2 separate regions of the Homo sapiens genome follow, and region 2 is linked to region 1. The links are contacts of gene promoters, found by promoter capture Hi-C in blood cells and fetal thymus (Javierre and others, 2016). All regions are on one chromosome and are shown on one strand. The core of a region is centred on a gene start or on the middle of the fragment in contact, and the rest is flanking DNA. Distances in the headings are between cores, read along the strand shown.

Region 1 (4,182 bases), core at 1,155-3,654:
GTCTCAAAAAAAAAAAAAAAAAAAAAATTAGCGTGGCGTGGTAGCAGGCACCTGTAATCCCAGCTACTTGGGAGGCTGAGGCAGAGGAATCACTTGAGCCTAGGAGGTGGAGGTTGCAGTGAGCCAAAATCATGCCACTGCACTCCAGCCTGGGTGACAGAGAGAGACACTATCTAAAAAAAAAAAGTTCTGTGACAATGTATCTGACTCCCCATGTGTGTCTGCTCAATTACGGCTAAATTGTGTCAGTAGGATTGTATAACTGTGTGCCTGCCTGTGGATTATGAATTCTGTGTTTTAGAGATTGTTTGGCTATGACATTGTGTAACCAATATAGCATAGGGTTGTGTTTTAGTGCCTGGGAATTGTATGTCTGTGCATAGTCCATATACATAGACAGACACACAATTATATGTGCACGGATTATATGATCAGTGTGACTGAGGGAACAGGAACTCATGTCATTATGTAATTGCATGGTCCTGTGAGTAACTGTGTTTTTGTTTTTGTTTTTAGAGATGGGATCTCGCTATGTTGCCCAAGCTGGTCTTGAACTCCTGGGCTCGAGCATTCCTCCTACCTTGGCCTCCCAAAGTGCTGGGACTGCAGGCATGAGCCACTACTCACTGCTCCAAGCCTGTTTTGTTTTTGTTTTTTAGAGACAGAATCTCACTCTGTAGCCCAGGCTGGAGTGCAGTGGCATGATCTTGGCTCACTGCAACCTCTGCCTCCCAGGCTCAAGTGATTCTTGTGCCTCAGCCTCCCGGGTACCTGGGATTAGAGGTGTATGCCACCATCCCCGGCCTATTTTTATATTTTTAGTAGACAGGGTTTCACTGTGTTGGCCAGGTTTGTCTCGAACTCCTGGCCTCAGGTGATCTGCCTGCCTCGGCCTCCCAAAGTGCTGGGATTACTAGCGTGAGCTACTGCGCCTGGCCCCATGCCTCCAAGTTTCAACCAGTTCTCCAGCTCAGCCTCCCAAATAGCTGGGATTACAAGCATGTGCCACAATGCCCAGCTAATTTTTGTATTTTTAGCAGAGAGAGGGCTTCATCCTGTTGGCCAGTCTGGTCTCGAACTCCTGACCTCAAGTGATCTCCCCACCTTGGCTTCCCAAAGTGCTGGGGTTACAGGTGTGAACCACCGCACCTGGCCTTGTTTTTGTTTGTGTCACCCAGGTTGATCTGCCAGGAATAAAGATGGCCACCCAACTTTTTTTTTTTTCCAGCGACAGAGTCTTGCTTTCTGTGCCCCAGGCTGGACTGCAGTGGTGTGATTATAGTTCAGTGCAGTCCCGACCTCCTGGGCTCAGGCAATCCTCCCACCTCAGCCTCCTGAGTAGCTGGGACTATGGGCATGCACCACCACTCACAGCTTTTTGTTGGAGAGATAGGTTTTATGTTGCCCAGGCTGGTCTTGAAATCCTGGTGTCAAGTGATCCTCCTGCCTCAGTCTTCCAATGAGTGACTATGAGTTATGTGTCTGTAATACGTATCCATGTCCCCTTCCCAGGCTCCCAGGGCACCAGAGTGGAGGTTCCTGTTGTAGAAACTCAGATCCTCTCCTCATGTTGGGCAGAATCAAGGAGCAGCCAGGCCCAGAGCCAGGGCACTGGTCTCCTGCAGGTCAGGTACTGCCTGTGGCTTGATCCAACGGTCCTATCCCACCCAGGAGGAGAGAGGGTCACTTTTCCCTTGGCTGCCCCCATCGCACTAAAGCAGCTGGCACTGAACCAGCCTCCATGCAGTCCCATGCAGTGCCACCCAAGGGTCCCCAGTAGACAATGGTGGGCCAGTTGTCAGGGGCTTCCTCCTGCTGCAGGGCTGAGACCCTGGGAGGTCCCAACCCAGGCAAATTGAACGCCAGGCTAATTTGAAGACCCAACTCCCAGCCCTCCCCTTCACCGGAGGACAGAGCTCTAGCTGGCCTGGGCCCCCACCTGATAGCAGCCTCCAACGTCTGGGGTGTCTGATAATGCTTGGCGGGGAGCTCGTGCCAAGTCCCGCCATCAGCACGGTTGTTGCTGTTTACTGGGGAGGGGGAGGGCTGTGGAGCCTCAATCAGGGGGACAGGGGGTCCCACAGCTTCTTCCCAGAATACCCTTTCTGCCTTTTCCAGGAAAGTTAACTGAGGGAAGACCCCCAAGTCTCTCCTTCTTTGGAGACCCAATGTCTGTTTTTACCCAGCACCTGGACCCTCAAACCCTGAACCCCCCAACCCTTGATATTTGACTTGGCTTTGGACACAGGGTTAGTCTTTAACCCCAGCCCCAGACAGGCCAACGTGAAGTTTGTGCCCCAGAAACAGTGCCCCCCCGCCGCCTTGCCTTGCTTTGCCTTATCAGAGGCTGCAGCCAATCAGCTAAGGACAGAGAGGAGCCCTCGAAGGGGCTATCACAGCCTCAGAGTTCACGAGGCAGCCGAGGAAGAGGAGGCTTGAGGCCCAGGGTGGGCACCAGCCAGCCATGGCCACAGCCGAGACCGCCTTGCCCTCCATCAGCACACTGACCGCCCTGGGCCCCTTCCCGGACACACAGGATGACTTCCTCAAGGTGGGGCCTAGAAGGTGGGGTCTAGGTGGGCTGGCTGGAATCCAGGGCCACAGTCACAGATCTTGGGGTCCAGACCTGCATCTTGACCTGAAATCAAGAGACTTAACCAGGACTGAGGTACGCTCAGTCCAGGAGAGGAGATCTCAGCTTAGTCTGGCAGGGGGTGAGGAGGGTGGTCTAGGGGTTTGAGGTTCTAAGTGTGATCTATTTCGGTAATAGAAAACGAAGGTAGCCTGGGCAACATGGTGAAACCCTATCTCTACAAAAAATACCAAAAACATTAGGCCAGGCATGGGGGCGTGTGCCTGTAGTCCCAGGTACTCCGTAGGCTGATGCAGGAGGATCATTAGAGCCCAGGAGATTAAGGATACAGTGAGCTGCACCACTGCACTCCAGCCTGGGCAAAAGAGTAAGACCCTATCTCAAGAAAAAAAAAAAAAAAAAGGAACGAGATCTAGGCTCACAGACAATCTTCCAGATATCAGCGGGAAATGATGAGTGTGTCTGGGGGACATCCAAAATTTCGGAATTAATCTTGTTTTGGGAGACAGGGAAGGAGAGGGATGTTCTGGGGGAAAACTAAGTCAAGGCTGGCATCCTCTCCCCCGTCCCCTGCCAGTTTTCCATCTCCAGCAGCTCTGCTACCCCTTCCCCCATCCCCGAGTGTGGTTCCAGATAGTGGAAGTCTTATCTCCTGTCTCCAGCCAGACCTGATCGGTTTCTGTCCCTGGAGCTGGGGGGGGAGCGGGGAGAGGGGCGGTTAGAGGGGCAGTGTTGGGGAAGTGGGACAGACAGACAGGCAAACAAGACCCCTTTCCAAAGCCTCTGCGTCAGAGTGTCCAGCCCGCGATGTCCCTGGGCAGGGCACCCCAGTGTCCACCGAACCTCGAGCTGCCTGCTCCCTCCCGCAGTGGTGGCGCTCCGAAGAGGCGCAGGACATGGGCCCGGGTCCTCCTGACCCCACGGAGCCGCCCCTCCACGTGAAGTCTGAGGACCAGCCCGGGGAGGAAGAGGACGATGAGAGGGGCGCGGACGCCACCTGGGACCTGGATCTCCTCCTCACCAACTTCTCGGGCCCGGAGCCCGGTGGCGCGCCCCAGACCTGCGCTCTGGCGCCCAGCGAGGCCTCCGGGGCGCAATATCCGCCGCCGCCCGAGACTCTGGGCGCATATGCTGGCGGCCCGGGGCTGGTGGCTGGGCTTTTGGGTTCGGAGGATCACTCGGGTTGGGTGCGCCCTGCCCTGCGAGCCCGGGCTCCCGACGCCTTCGTGGGCCCAGCCCTGGCTCCAGCCCCGGCCCCCGAGCCCAAGGCGCTGGCGCTGCAACCGGTGTACCCGGGGCCCGGCGCCGGCTCCTCGGGTGGCTACTTCCCGCGGACCGGGCTTTCAGTGCCTGCGGCGTCGGGCGCCCCCTACGGGCTACTGTCCGGGTACCCCGCGATGTACCCGGCGCCTCAGTACCAAGGGCACTTCCAGCTCTTCCGCGGGCTCCAGGGACCCGCGCCCGGTCCCGCCACGTCCCCCTCCTTCCTGAGTTGTTTGGGACCCGGGACGGTGGGCACTGGACTCGGGGGGACTGCAGAGGATCCAGGTGTGATAGCCGAGACCGCGCCATCCAAGCGAGGCCGACGT
Region 2 (4,182 bases), core at 1,035-3,534, 47 kb before region 1:
AGCCAAGATCATGCCACTGCACTCCAGCCTGGGCAATAGAGTGAGACCCACTCCCTAAATAAATAAATAAATAATCAACATAAAATGGGAGGAGAGAAGGGACTTTGAGAAATGTATCCTTAATACAGAACCTCATATAGGGTCAGGATTTGGGGATATGAGTAATCCCATTTTACAGACTCAAATAATAATTGTGATGTAAAAGGAATAAATGTGTTCTGCTTATAAGAGTGTTCGAACATGGGCCACACTCAATTTAGTAAGCAGTGTGAATATGTGTGGGCATTTAATTCTCACAGTAACCTGGGCTCCAATCACCTCCATGTGAGCAAGAAACTGAGGCACAGAAAGACTACACCTTCTGGTTGAATGACATAAATAACAGATCTAGGATTCTTTTTTTTTTTTTTTTTTTTTTTTGAGACAGAGCCTTGCTCTGTCACCGAGGCTGGAGTGCAGTGGTGCGATCTCTGCTCACTGCAAGCTCCACCTACCAGGCTCAAGTGATTCTCCTGCCTCAGCTTCCCGTGTAGCTGGGATTACAGGCACCCCCACTGCACCCAGCTAATTTTTGTGTTTTTAGAGGAGATGGGGTTTCGCCATCTTGGCCAAGCTGGTCTTGAACTCCTGACCTCAGGTGATTCACCCGCCTCAGCCTCCCAAAGTGCTGGGATTACTGAGCCTGGCCAGCAGATCTAGGATTCTAATCTACCTGTGCTGACGTAAGTCACCACTGCCCACATGTGATTACTGACCATTTGAAATGTGGTTGGTCCGAACTGAGATGTGTTGTAAGTGTAAAATACGCATCAGATTTTGAAGATTTAGTATGAAAAAAAGTGCAATTTTTTTTTTTTTGAGACGGAGTTTCGCCTTGTCACCCAGGCTGGAGTGCAATGACACGATCTCGGCTCACCACAACCTCTGCCTCCCAGGTTCAAGCGACTCTCCTGCCTCAGCCTCCCAAGTAGCTGAGATTACAGGCATGCGCCACCACGCCCTGCTAATTTTGTATTTTTAGTAGAGACGGGGTTTCTCCATGTTGGTCAGGCTGGTCTCAAACTCCCGACCTCAGGTGATCCACCCGCCTCGGCCTCCCAAAGTGCTGGGATTACAGAGGTGAGCCACTGTGCCCGGCCGAGTGCAAAATATTTTATTAGTCATCTTTTTTTTTGTAAGAGTCAGGGTCTGGCTGGCTGGGCGAGGTGGGTCATGCCTCTAATGCCAGCATTTTGGGAGACCGATGCAGGAGGATAACCTGAGCCTAGGAGTTTGAGACCAGCCTGGGCAACATGGCCAAAACCCATACTTAAAAAAAAAAAAAAAGCTGGGTGTGGTGGCGCGCACCTGCAGTTCCAGCTACTCAGGAGCCTAAGGTTGGAGGATCCTTAGAGCCTGGGAAGTCAAGGCTGCAGTAAGCCATAATTGCACCACTGCACTCCAGCATGGGTGACAGAGCAAGACCCTGTCTCAAAAAAGAAAGATGTTTTGCACTGTGTTTCTATAGGACAGTGCTAATCTAGGCCATGCAGTATTTGCACTGACGTTACTCTCAGCGCACAGGGGTGGGAGGATCTGGAAGGTTTATAATTTATGACTTCATTTCCACCAACTCTCTGTAGAACCTTGGGCAAGTCATACCACCCTCTGAGCCTCAGTTTTCTCACATGTGTAATGCGGTTATATCAGTATCTACATCATAAAGTTTTGGGGATAAATGAAATACTACACGTGAAGTACTCAGTTCTGGGCTAAGTACTACCACATACGAGGTAGTCCACACAGGTTAGGTGCCACCTTGACTTACTAGGTGAATTCCTTTTCCCTCTATAAAAAGGGACGGTACCTACCCAGCCTTCCTTTGAAATTTTAAAAGTAGCTGACATCGCCAAAATGACCATCTCTGGAGCCCACCACCCACCGCCTCTCCTAGGGCAAGAGAGAATACCAGAAGGGCAGAGGGTTCTGTAACCCAGAGACGGGGAAGTCCAAGGTCACACAGCCCGCTCGAAGTGAGGCTAGATAAAACTCAAAACAGGGCGGTGCTTCTGACCTTGAGATAATCAATTTTACCCCTCTGGTCAACCAGACGCCATTGATGGAGCCAGGGTGGAGGTGGGAACTGAGTCCCATGCACCTTTTGCGGCTCCGTCGCCACACTCAAGATGACGACACATTGAGCCCTGTTCTACAGTTAGACACATTCAAGATGGCGGTACACACTCCGGTTCCGGTTCCGGTGGCTCAGCTCCCCCCGCCCACCCGGGCCCGGACACGCTGAGCACACTGGAAGGAGTCATGGCGGATGGTCAGGTGGCGGAACTGCTGCTCCGGCGGCTGGAGGCGTCTGATGGCGGCCTGGACAGCGCCGAGTTGGCGGCTGAGCTGGGCATGGAGCACCAGGCGGTGGTGGGCGCCGTGAAGAGCCTTCAGGCGCTGGGCGAGGTGAGCCGGGCCCGTGATGCCGGACCGCCTTGCCCTTGCACCTACAGTCCCCTTGCCACGGGCGCTCTACGTCCAAGCCAAATTCCCTCAGGCCTAGTTTGGGGTAGCTGTATATGTGTCCACTCCGGGATGTGCGGGCGGGAAGTGGGACGAGTGAGGGCCCAGACGCACGGATGTTCCTCATGCAATAAACGTTTATTGAGGCACGGTCAGCGTGGGTAGAGGGTACGATGATGGACGAGGAAGTCGCGGTTGCTGCCCTCACGCAGGTTGCGACGTAATAGGAAGGTGCTTCAAGAACCAGAGTGATGGGGGAAAACAGGGGACCCAGCTGTGACAGCTGACCCAGCCTTGGGGGTCAGGGAGAGCGGCCTGGTGCAGGTGACGGCTGAGTCTGTTCTCTGTTGAGGAAAGTGATAGCACTTTAGAGATCAGTGGCCGGGATCTTGGGGGATGGCAGGCGGCAAGGGAGACCAGCATAGCTGTAATTGCAAAGCCTCTTAGGTCTTTACCTCATGAGGGAACTGGGAAGCGATAGCAGGAGCTAGAGCCGGTCAGATGAGTGTGCTATCCACATCACCTTTGGGAAGAATTGGCATGGACAGGACTGGAGGTGAAGGGATGAAAGAAGAAGCTGGCACTTCCCCAAGCTGGAGGGCATGATGTCTGGCTATGGGAAGGAAGCTTGGGGGAGGTGGGGAAGGCGTGGGATTCAGGACAAGGCAGGGGGCGCACAGATGAAGTCCAGCCTTCTGACTTGGGCAAGTGGACAGTGACAGAGTCACAGGCGTAGGATGCTGAGGGGCCCGTGGGCCACCCAGAAGGCTAGATCCATGGGGCCAGGATCTGGGCTGTTTATCCGTAGAGCTCATGTTCTGTGCCCCACTTTGGTCTCAGCTTGTTTGTCCAATCCATTCCATAATCCTGGCTGATGGCCATGTTATTCCCATTTTGCAGATGTGACAACTGATGGTCAGTAACATAATCAGTGTGAATAGAAGAGGCCGATGAGCCCAGATTTGAAATTAGGCACTCAGGCTGCAGAGCCCATAGTCCTCAATGCAGAGGAGAGATGGCAGCTGTGTTGTGTGGGGTGACAGTGCCTTGACCAATATGATCTGACATTTGTATACGTCACAGAGGGTTAAATAATATAAGGAGGTGAGGTTCAATCTAATGACAGTAATAGCCATAAAAATAATTATAGTAATTAGAATTTATGCCGGGTGCAGTGGTCACACCTGTAATCCCAGCACTTTGGGAGACCAAGGCGGGTGGATCACGAGGTCAGGAGTTCAAGACCAGCCTGGCCAAGATGATGAAACCCTGTCTCTACTAAAAATACAAAAAAAAATTAGCCAGGCGTGTTGGTGGGCACCCGTAATCCCAGCTACTTGGGAGGCTGAGGCAGAGAATTGTTTGAATCGGGAGGTGGAGGTTGCAGTGAGCCGAGATCGCACTCCAGCCTGGGCGACAGAGCGAGACTCCGTCTCAAAAAAAAAAAAAAAAAAAATTTATGCAGTGTTTGTCACGTGGTAGGCACTATATATTCTTTCTGAGTATTAATTTAGCTACTCCTTAAAATCATCTGAGGTAGAACCCATCACACCTTTCTCTTATGGATGAGAAGAGTCACTGAGAGGTTAAGCAACTTTCCTGAGGTCACACAGTAAGTGAAGGGCAGAGTTGGGATTAGAATGAAGTGGGAGCCAGGCCCTGTGCACTCTACTTACCCTT

The links. Contacts are between HindIII fragments. The CHiCAGO score rates a contact against its expected background, and 5 or more counts as called.
Region 2: a contact is called between the fragment with the promoter of FARSA here and the fragment with the promoter of KLF1 in region 1, in 3 of 17 cell types (erythroblasts, megakaryocytes and M1 macrophages). The highest score is 8.0, in erythroblasts.

Annotation. Positions count from the first base shown.
Region 1 is chr19:12,885,423-12,889,604 of GRCh38, reverse strand. It overlaps KLF1 (KLF transcription factor 1), which reads left to right and starts at 2,404. Exons shown (of 3, transcript NM_006563.5): 1 at 2,404-2,551; 2 at 3,463-4,182. The coding sequence starts at 2,465. RefSeq lists cis regulatory regions at 214-714, 1,674-3,514, 4,094-4,182, enhancers at 1,762-2,100, 2,209-2,549, 3,113-3,374, 4,132-4,182, 4,119-4,182, a promoter at 1,452-2,470 and a silencer at 3,722-3,981. The HindIII fragment of the contact is 12,769 bases long and covers 1-4,182 here.
Region 2 is chr19:12,931,813-12,935,994 of GRCh38, reverse strand. FARSA (phenylalanyl-tRNA synthetase subunit alpha) reads left to right here and starts at 2,284. Exons shown (of 13, transcript NM_004461.3): 1 at 2,284-2,445. The coding sequence starts at 2,299. FARSA-AS1 (FARSA antisense RNA 1) reads right to left here. Exons shown (of 3, transcript NR_149078.1): 2 at 2,958-3,025; 3 at 2,699-2,846. RefSeq lists a silencer at 944-1,049 and enhancers at 2,086-2,380, 2,102-2,601, 2,612-2,681. The HindIII fragment of the contact is 14,863 bases long and covers 1-3,131 here.